2 separate regions of the Homo sapiens genome follow, and region 2 is linked to region 1. Evidence: promoter capture Hi-C in 16 types of primary human blood cells and fetal thymus (Javierre and others, 2016). All regions are on one chromosome and are shown on one strand. Each heading gives the region's core, a stretch centred on a gene start or on the middle of the fragment in contact. The rest is flanking DNA. Distances are from core to core; before and after follow the strand shown. Region 1 holds the start of RHOT1 (ras homolog family member T1). Region 2 overlaps RAB11FIP4 (RAB11 family interacting protein 4).

Region 1 (4,164 bases), core at 133-2,632:
GGCGGAGCTTGCAGTGAGCCGAGATTGCGCCACTGCACTCCAGCCTGGGCGACAGAGCGAGACTCCGTCTCAAAACAAAACCAAAACAAAACAAAAAATCTGTGGATTACAACTTTTTAGTGACTTTTTAATATAATAATGATAGCTGAGATCAGTAGAGCACACGCTCTGAGTCTGGCACTGTACCAAATGCTTGACAAGTATTATAGTATTTATTACTCACAACCATCTCAAGAGGAAGGTATTATCATCATTATTTCCATGCTACAGAAGAAGGAACAGTGGCTGAGGGAAGTAAAAATAAAAGCACTTAGTCGAGATCACAGAGCTATTATGTGGAGCCTAGATTCAAACCCAGGAAATTTGCCAGCAACTCTTAACTGCTGCAAGAGACCACATGACTTCTCCTAGGAGAAAGGGAAGTTGGTATTACGCACATTTCATTCCCTTTAAGTGTTTATTGTGTAATATTTAAGATAGAAAAAATGTACATTATGCACAGATAGTGCTTCCTCATTAATTTATGTATTTTATATTTCCCACTGTGTGCCAAGTATTAGGGATGTGATATATATTCGCACGCGTATGTATATATATATATTTGCCATTGTGTACCAAACATTAAGCATGTAACAACAAATTCCTCCAGATGGAGAGGGTCACGAGAAAATTAAGGCAATGTTAGAAAAATCATCTAGAGTTTATTATCGAGTGCCACCTCCGTGTCTAGCATTACGCTGGGTAAGCCTGAGTAAAGAAGAGTGTCCGAAAACCCTGCCATAAAATAAACTACATAGACAGAAAAAAAGTCACTTAGTTTGGTTATAAAGAAAGGAGTCTTGTTCACACAGCGTAAAAACGAATCTTATAATCGTATTTTATAAGCATCAGAGGCAAAAGCAACTAGGGTGACGGGCTTTGGGGAGTGGAAAGCGCCGGATCCTGGGAGCCAGTCGCCCTACTCGATCAAGCATTTTCTGACGGCCCTATCCAATAACGTGGGGACGCAGCTGAAAACCATGCAAGCTGATCGCTGCCCTCCCGGAGTTTATGGTCTGGTGAGAAGATCCCTGCTCTGAGTCACTGCCAAGCTCTAGCTATGTGACTTTGAACAGGGAATTTCTGTCCCTATCTATAAAATAAACGGGGTTAAACCAGGGAATCCGCCATTCAAATTCCTGGCCCAAGTGTCTCCGGGGTCGCGGTGCCCAAAGGAGGGTGGGCGAGGCTCCCTGGGCCTGCGCTGCGGCGGCCTGACAGCGGGAGCGCTGTTCCGGCGCAGAGCGCGTTCGCGTTCCGAAAGCGCGTGTCCCTCGCCGCGTGCCGTCGTCCCCGCCGCCGCCGCCGCCGCCGCCGCCGCCGCCGCCGCCGCCGCCGCCGCCACAGCCCGCTGGGCCGGAGGAGGCGGAGCTGGCGCTGTCCCGGCTCTCTTGCGGGGAAGCAACTGAGGGGGCGGCGCGGCGGGCCCCGGCGGCCGAAGAGGCTGGCAGGTGGCGCCGTGGGGTGGGTGCTCCTGGTGAGAGGAGTCCACTCCGTGCGTGCGGGCGGAGGCCGGCCCCCGAGAGCCGCCGACATGAAGAAAGACGTGCGGATCCTGCTGGTGGGAGAACGTGAGTCCGCACCCTCTGGCCGGCCCCTGAGTCCCTGCCCTCCCTGCCCCTGCAGCCCCTGTCGCCCCTGTCGCCCCTGCAGCCCCAACCTTTGCAGCCCCGGCCCTTCTCGCGCCTCACAGCTCCGCTCGCCTTTCTCCGCGTTCCTAGGCCTTCCAGCCCCTTCACTCTTCTCTTTTGGCTGGCCGCCGGCGGCCCTCACCCTGTCACCTCACCTGGGCCCTCCAGAGATCTCCTTTCCCTGTTCCCCAGCCGTCCTCCCAAGCCATGTCCCTATTAGCCCTAACCGCCCGACCTCATCCCTCCGAAGCTTCTCTCCTCCTTTTCCTCTTCGAACCCTGTCCTTCTGGGCCTCACAGTTTCCCAGGCCGCCTCCTTTCAGACCTTCTTGTCTTCTGGAGATTCCCTTATCACTGCCAGGCAGGTGCTGGAATAAGCAGACTGACCAATAGGGATTGCGTGAACCGGCTCCCGGGGAAGCTGGGGGAGGGGTGCAGAACTATTCGACTTGTGGGCAAGGTCAGGTTTCTGCATTTTTTTGGCACTCGCAGTCTTCACTCTCTCTATGTATTGACATTAAGATATGAGTAGTGGAAAGGGCCGGATCCTTTTTAGCAGTACTTGTACTTTGCATTGGACTAACTCCTCGTACTCGAGATATTTCATCAAAAATTTTTACTCAACTTCGAGTTATGCAAGCGCTCAATGAATTAGAATTATCTGGGGAGGGTCCAATTGTTGTTACCCTAAAGCGTAATCTTTGCCCTCTTTTTAAGCATTATTTATTCCATAGTTACTTCGTAGTTAACTTATTAATAACCACAGGCACACAGACATTTGATATCTCCCCCCACCCAGAAATTTCATACATTTCACCTTTTGAAAATATAATAAAGGAGAGTTCCCTCTGTTCACTGACATGAGGACGCAACAGCGGGGACTTCTTGATTTCACTCTGCAAGTTATGTAACTCAGTTGCTAGGACTAAAATAAGAAAGTGGGCCAGGGATAACTGGATTGTTTGTTTTAAAGAGTTAATACATTCGTTAATAGTCTGCCATTGCTGTTTCGAAGCATTCTGTTTTAAACCATTATTTCATTCTTGGTAACCCCTCAGGGTCACCGTGATGGAATCCCAAGGAAGAAAGTTAACACGTTTTTACCCTCTTCTGTAGTGTTCTTTGAGTTCATTGAAATTTCATCCACCTGCTGTTTGGAGAAATCTTCCTTTAGAATTAGAATTTAGGAGTAAGCTTAGCCAGCCATAGTTTACTTTTTGATTTGCAGTTGTAAATTTTTATTTTTATTTATAACTATATCTTAATCTGTATTTTTCATGGACTTCCTTGACAAGGTTCAGGAAGGTGTTATTTAACATATAATTCATGCTTATGCTTTTGGAGCAAGGTAGGGAAAGTGAGTAGACGACTTGCTTAAAAAACTGATCCTTAAATATATGATGAAATAGTTTGTTGTTGTTGTTGTTTTGAGACAGAGTCTCGCTCTGTCACCGAGGCTGGAGTGCAGTGCCTGGGATTACAGGCACTGTGGCTCATGCCTGTAATCCCAGCACTTTGGGAGGCCAAGGCAGGCAGATCACTTGAGGTCAGGAGTTCGAGACGAGCCTGGCCAACATGGTGAAACCCCGTCTCTACTAAAAATACGAAAATTAGCCGGGTGTGGTGGCACACACCTGTAGTCCCAGCTACTCTGGAGGCTGAAGCAGGAGAATCACTTGAACCCTGGAGGAGGAGGTTGCAGTGAGCTGAGACATGCCAGCCTGGGCAGCAGAGCAAGACTCTGTCTGAAAAAAAACCTTTAATAATGCTCCCACACAGCTGGGTGAGGTGGCTTATACCTGTATTCCAAGCACTCTGGGAGGCTGAGGCAGGAGGATCACTTGAGGCCAAGGAGTTTGAGACCAACCTGGGCAATGTAGTGAGATCCTGTCTCTACAAAAAATTTAAATATTAATGGCTGGGCACAGTGGCTCACTCCTGTAATCCCAGCACTTTGGGAGGCTGAGGCAGGAGGATTGCTTGAACGCAGGAGTTTGAGACCAGCCTGGGCAACATAGTGAGACCCCGCCTCAAAAAAAAAAAACCACAACACTATTAGCTAGGCATGGTGGTGTGCACCTGTAGTCCTAGCTACTGGGGAGGCTGAGATGAGAGAATTGCTTGAACCCAGAAAATCGAGGTTGCAGTGAGCCATGATCACACCACTGCACTTCAGCCCAGGTGACAGAGCAAGACTGTCTCTTAAAGAAAAAATTAATTTTTAATGGCTGGGCACAGTAGCTCATGCCTGTAACCCCAACACTTTGGGAGGCCAAAGTGGGCAGATCACCTGAGGTCAGGAGTTTGAGACCAGGAAACTGACCAACATGACGAAACCCAGTCTCTACTAACAATACAATAATTAGTCAGCTGTGGCAGCACGCACCTGTAATCCCAGCTACTCAGGAGGCTAAGGCAGGAGAATGGCTTTCACCCAGGAGATGGAGGTCGCAGTGAGCTGAGATCACACCACTGCATTCCAACCTGGGGGACAG
Region 2 (4,074 bases), core at 1,480-3,979, 700 kb before region 1:
GTGTCAGAGTGGGCTGGACTGGGCAGGTCCGAATTTCTCAGGCCCGGCTCTCTGCGCCCTGCTGTGTCTTAGCTGTCCCCTAGGGGTCAGTCTGAGACTGAGAAGAAGCGGGTGCCTGGATCACTACGTAGGCTTCCCAGATGCCCCCAGGGAACGCAAACCTGAGGCATGATTTGAGGAGGTGTGGGGATGACACACAGATGGGATGGCAGGCGCTCCATCCCTGTGCCATGCGTGTATGTTGGGAGGTGAAGCTTGTTTTTCGGGCACAGCCCCCTCCCCTCAGGGTGTGGACGGAGACCTCTGACTTAACCACTGGATGTGGCTCGTAATTAAAGCAGTGAATGCTTGAGTGCTGGCTGGTGGGCCAGCAGCTGCCACCTGGCCCCTGAGAGCACCCTGCCCTTCTTGACCCCCTCCCAGGCCCCGAGAAGCCTCTAGCGTTGGGCATCAAGCAGGGGCCCCTGGGGTTGCTGTCCAGACCTCAGGCCAGTGCAAGTCTATCCCGGGCAGTTGATGCCTGGATGCACCAGTTCCTGACCTTACTGGATGTGGCTCCACCTGCGTCCCCAGAGCCCTGCGAGACCCTGGCAGAGGGAAACTTTGAGGCTTGGGAACCCCAACTGTTGAGCAGGCTGTTGAGAGAGTTTCCTGACCCAGGGAAATTTGCTTCTGGTCAAAGGGAATGTTAGGTGTGTCCTGAAGGACTCCCCAGGTTCCCTGGGTCCATGCATGGGGTCCCTGGAATCGCCCTGGGAGTCCCTCTGAGACTGTCCTGCTCAGGCTGCCCATCAGCCCCCAGTCCATATGCTATAGGGGCCCCCGTGGGGAGGGGGCATGGAGACACGTGGAGAGCCCGACACTCGGGTGCTAAAGGCAATGGGATAGTTGCTAGGGGCCCGTGGTCACCCCTCAGCAGGCAGTAATGTGAACCCTAATCCTACAAGTGCTGTAAGGCCCTGGGCCCTGTTCATCCACCCTATGGTGGATGAAATGGAGAGGGCATCCAGCCACCTGCCCCTCCTGTGTAGCCACCACGCCAGCAAATGGTGTCAGTAGCCTCCAACCCAGAGAGTCATCCTCAGCGCCTCCTCATGCAGCTGCCTTGAGTCCTCTGTTCCCCACTCACCCCTGCCTCCCCCTTCCATCACAGCCACTGCCACCCACTGACCGGGCGTCCTCCTGTCCTCAGCCTTCCTCTCTCCACACCCCCATCCCGCTCCTGGGACCCGTCCTTACCAAGGGATGAAAACCAACATCAGCTCCTACCCACTACTCTAGCCTCATCTCTCACCATGGTGCATCTCACACCTAAAACTGGCGATACCAAACCGCTCCCCGTTTCCTGAGAAAGCCATGTTCTCTCTTGCCTCTGAGTGTTATCTTTCTCCTAGGATGTCCTCCCTCCCGCTTCCTTGTCAGGAGCTAACGTCTACTCACCTTTTTAAGACTTACTTGCCGGGAGTGGTGGCTCATGCCTGTAATCCCAGCACTTTGGGAGGCTGAGGTGGGAGGATTACTTGAGCCCAGGAGTTTGAGACCAGCCTGGACAATATAGTGAGACTGCTTCTCTTAAAAAAAAAATTTTTACTTAGGTACCGCCTCCTCCAGGAAGCCTCCCTGACTCCTTCTGCCCCAGCCCAAAGGAGAAGGACCTGCACTGAGCTTCCTGGGGGCCCTTCACCCTCTACCACTGCCTGAACCTCACCCTTCATGACAGCCAGCCCCATGTCCACCCAGTGGCTTCAGGGCTCAGGCTGAGCTCCTCCTTTTCACCCCCAGGACAGCACCCACAGCAAGCATCGTTATCCATGCTCCTTGGGTGTGTCTCTAAGTATTTCTAGAACTAGGTATCTGGAAGCAGAATTGCTGTGTCAAAGGGTATGTAGATTTTGTTTTTTAACAGATACGGATGAAATTTTCTTCCACAAAGCCTGTACCATTTGTATCACCCAAGCACTATATGAGATTGCCCCTTTCCCCATGGCCTTCGCCAACCCCGGAAGCCATCCATCCACCTGCTGGTCTCCGGCCTAGCAGCCTGAGGGGAGGAAAGCCCATTGCTGCCGTCCTCTGTGCTGCCCAGCTTCCTAGGGAGGCGGACCATCTTTTTCTTATCTTCCCATACCCTCTGGATTTCTGCTTTTACGAATTAGCTATTCATATTCTTTGCCCATTTTCGATATGGTTGTTTGTCTTTTCCTTATTGATTTATAAGAAATCTCTGTATATTCTGTTTTTTGCTTGTTTGTTTTTTGAGGCAGTCTCGCTCTACTGCCCAGGCTGGAGTGCAGTGGCTCAATCTCAGCTCACTGCAACCTCTGCCTCCCGGGCTCAAGCGATCCACCTGCCTCGGCCCCGCAATTAGCTGGTACCACAGGCACACGCCACCACATCCAGCTAATTTTTGTTTTTTTGTTTGTTTGTTTGTTTGTTTTGTTTTTGGTAGAGACAGGGTTTTGCATGTTGCTCAGGCTGGTCTTGAACTCCTGTGCTCAGGTGATCTGCCCACCTCGGCCTCCCAAAGTGCTGAGATTACAGGTGTGAGCCACAGCAACAGGTTGAAATCTCTATATATCCTGATTATCAATCTTTATGGATTTTGCTTGTGTTTTAATCTTGTTTTAGGAGTGTTTTATTACACAGAATGTTAATTCTGATGTCATCATTTATCAACCTTTTTATGCCATTTGCATTTTGTGTATCATTTTGTGCCTTCTGTACCTCCAGGCTATAAACATATTCTCCTATATATAGTTTTCAGATACTTTTGAGAAAAAGAAGTATTTATGCTTAGCTCTTTTATCCACCTGGAGCTTATTTTTGCTTTTGGTGGGAGTAGAGATCTGGCACTCTTACTTCCTCAATATGGCCAGTACTTTGAGTTCCTAATGTTGAATAGTCCCTCTTTCTCAATTGATTTGAAATTTTATCTTTATTGTATGCTAACTTACCTTATATACGTAGGTCTCTTTCTGGACTCTGGTCTGTTATATTGATCTGTTTGTCTACCTACTTTTAAGCCAAAACCATAGTTTCAGTTACTCTTGTTTATAGTTTGATATCTGATAGGGAAAGGCTCTCTCATCCTTCTTTGTTTCTTTAACCTTTAAGGCCAGGTGCGGTGGCTCATGCCTGTAATCCCAGCACTTTGGGAGGCCAAGGCAGGTGGATCACCCGAGGTCAGGAGTTCAAGACCAGCCTGACCAACATGGTGAAACCCCATCTCTACTAAAAATACAAAAATTAACCAGGCATGGTGGCACATGTCTGTAATCCCAGCTACTTGGGAGGCTGAGGCAGGAGAATCACTTGAACCCGGGAGGCGGAGGTTGCAGTGAGCTGAGATCACGCCATTGCGCTTAAGCCTTGGCGACAAAGTGAGACTCTGTCATACACACACACACAAAAACAAATAAAAAAAACTGTTTTTTTGTTATTCTTACATATTTTCTTTTCTGGAACAGCCTTTTTGTCAAGCTCTATTGCAAATCCTGTAGGAGATCATATTTGAAATTAAATTTGTGCATTAATTGAAGGAAATTGGCTTCTTTACAATATTGCATTCTGTCATCCAGGAATGCATATATCTTTTCATTTATTCTGGCCTTTTATGCCCTCTAGGAAAGTTTTCTGTTGTTTTTCTTTTTTGGTTTTTTGGGTTTTTTGAGATGGAGTTTTGCTGTTATTGCCCAGGCTGGAGTGCAGTGGCTGGATCTCTGCTCACTGCAACCTCTGCCTCCCAGGTCCAAGCGATTCCCCTGCCTCAGCCTCCCTAGTAGGTGGGACTACAGGTGCCCACCACCATGCCCGGCTAATTTTTTGTATTTTCAGTAGAGATGGGGTTCTACTACGTTGGCCAGGCTGGTCTCAAACTCCTGACCTCAGGTGATCCTCCTGCTTCGGCCTCCCAAAGTGCTGGGATTACAGGTGTGAGCCACCGCATCTGGCCGGAAAGTTTTATAATTTTCTTAAATAGGTTATGCACACTTTCTTCTTAGGGTGACTATATTTGGAGTTTTTGTGCTGATATGTGTAGGATCTTTTTGCTATGATATTTTATAACTGGTTACA

Evidence for each region. Contacts are between HindIII fragments. The CHiCAGO score rates a contact against its expected background, and 5 or more counts as called.
Region 2: a fragment that was not itself captured here is called in contact with the fragment with the promoter of RHOT1 in region 1 in 1 of 17 cell types (endothelial precursors); the score reaches 7.8 in endothelial precursors.

Annotation. Positions count from the first base shown.
Region 1 is chr17:32,141,120-32,145,283 of GRCh38, forward strand. RHOT1 (ras homolog family member T1) reads left to right here and starts at 1,383. Exons shown (of 20, transcript NM_001033566.3): 1 at 1,383-1,610. The coding sequence starts at 1,574. LOC105371730 (a long non-coding RNA gene) reads right to left here and starts at 2,016. Exons shown (of 2, transcript NR_136413.1): 1 at 1,906-2,016; 2 at 107-1,594. RefSeq lists an enhancer at 714-883 and silencers at 1,344-1,573, 1,604-1,663. The HindIII fragment of the contact is 3,152 bases long and covers 1-1,918 here.
Region 2 is chr17:31,437,374-31,441,447 of GRCh38, forward strand. The region is part of intron 3 of RAB11FIP4 (RAB11 family interacting protein 4); the gene reads left to right. Among named protein-coding and RNA genes, the nearest start is that of RAB11FIP4, 48 kb to the left of the region's middle. RefSeq lists an enhancer at 162-271. The HindIII fragment of the contact is 4,954 bases long and covers 253-4,074 here.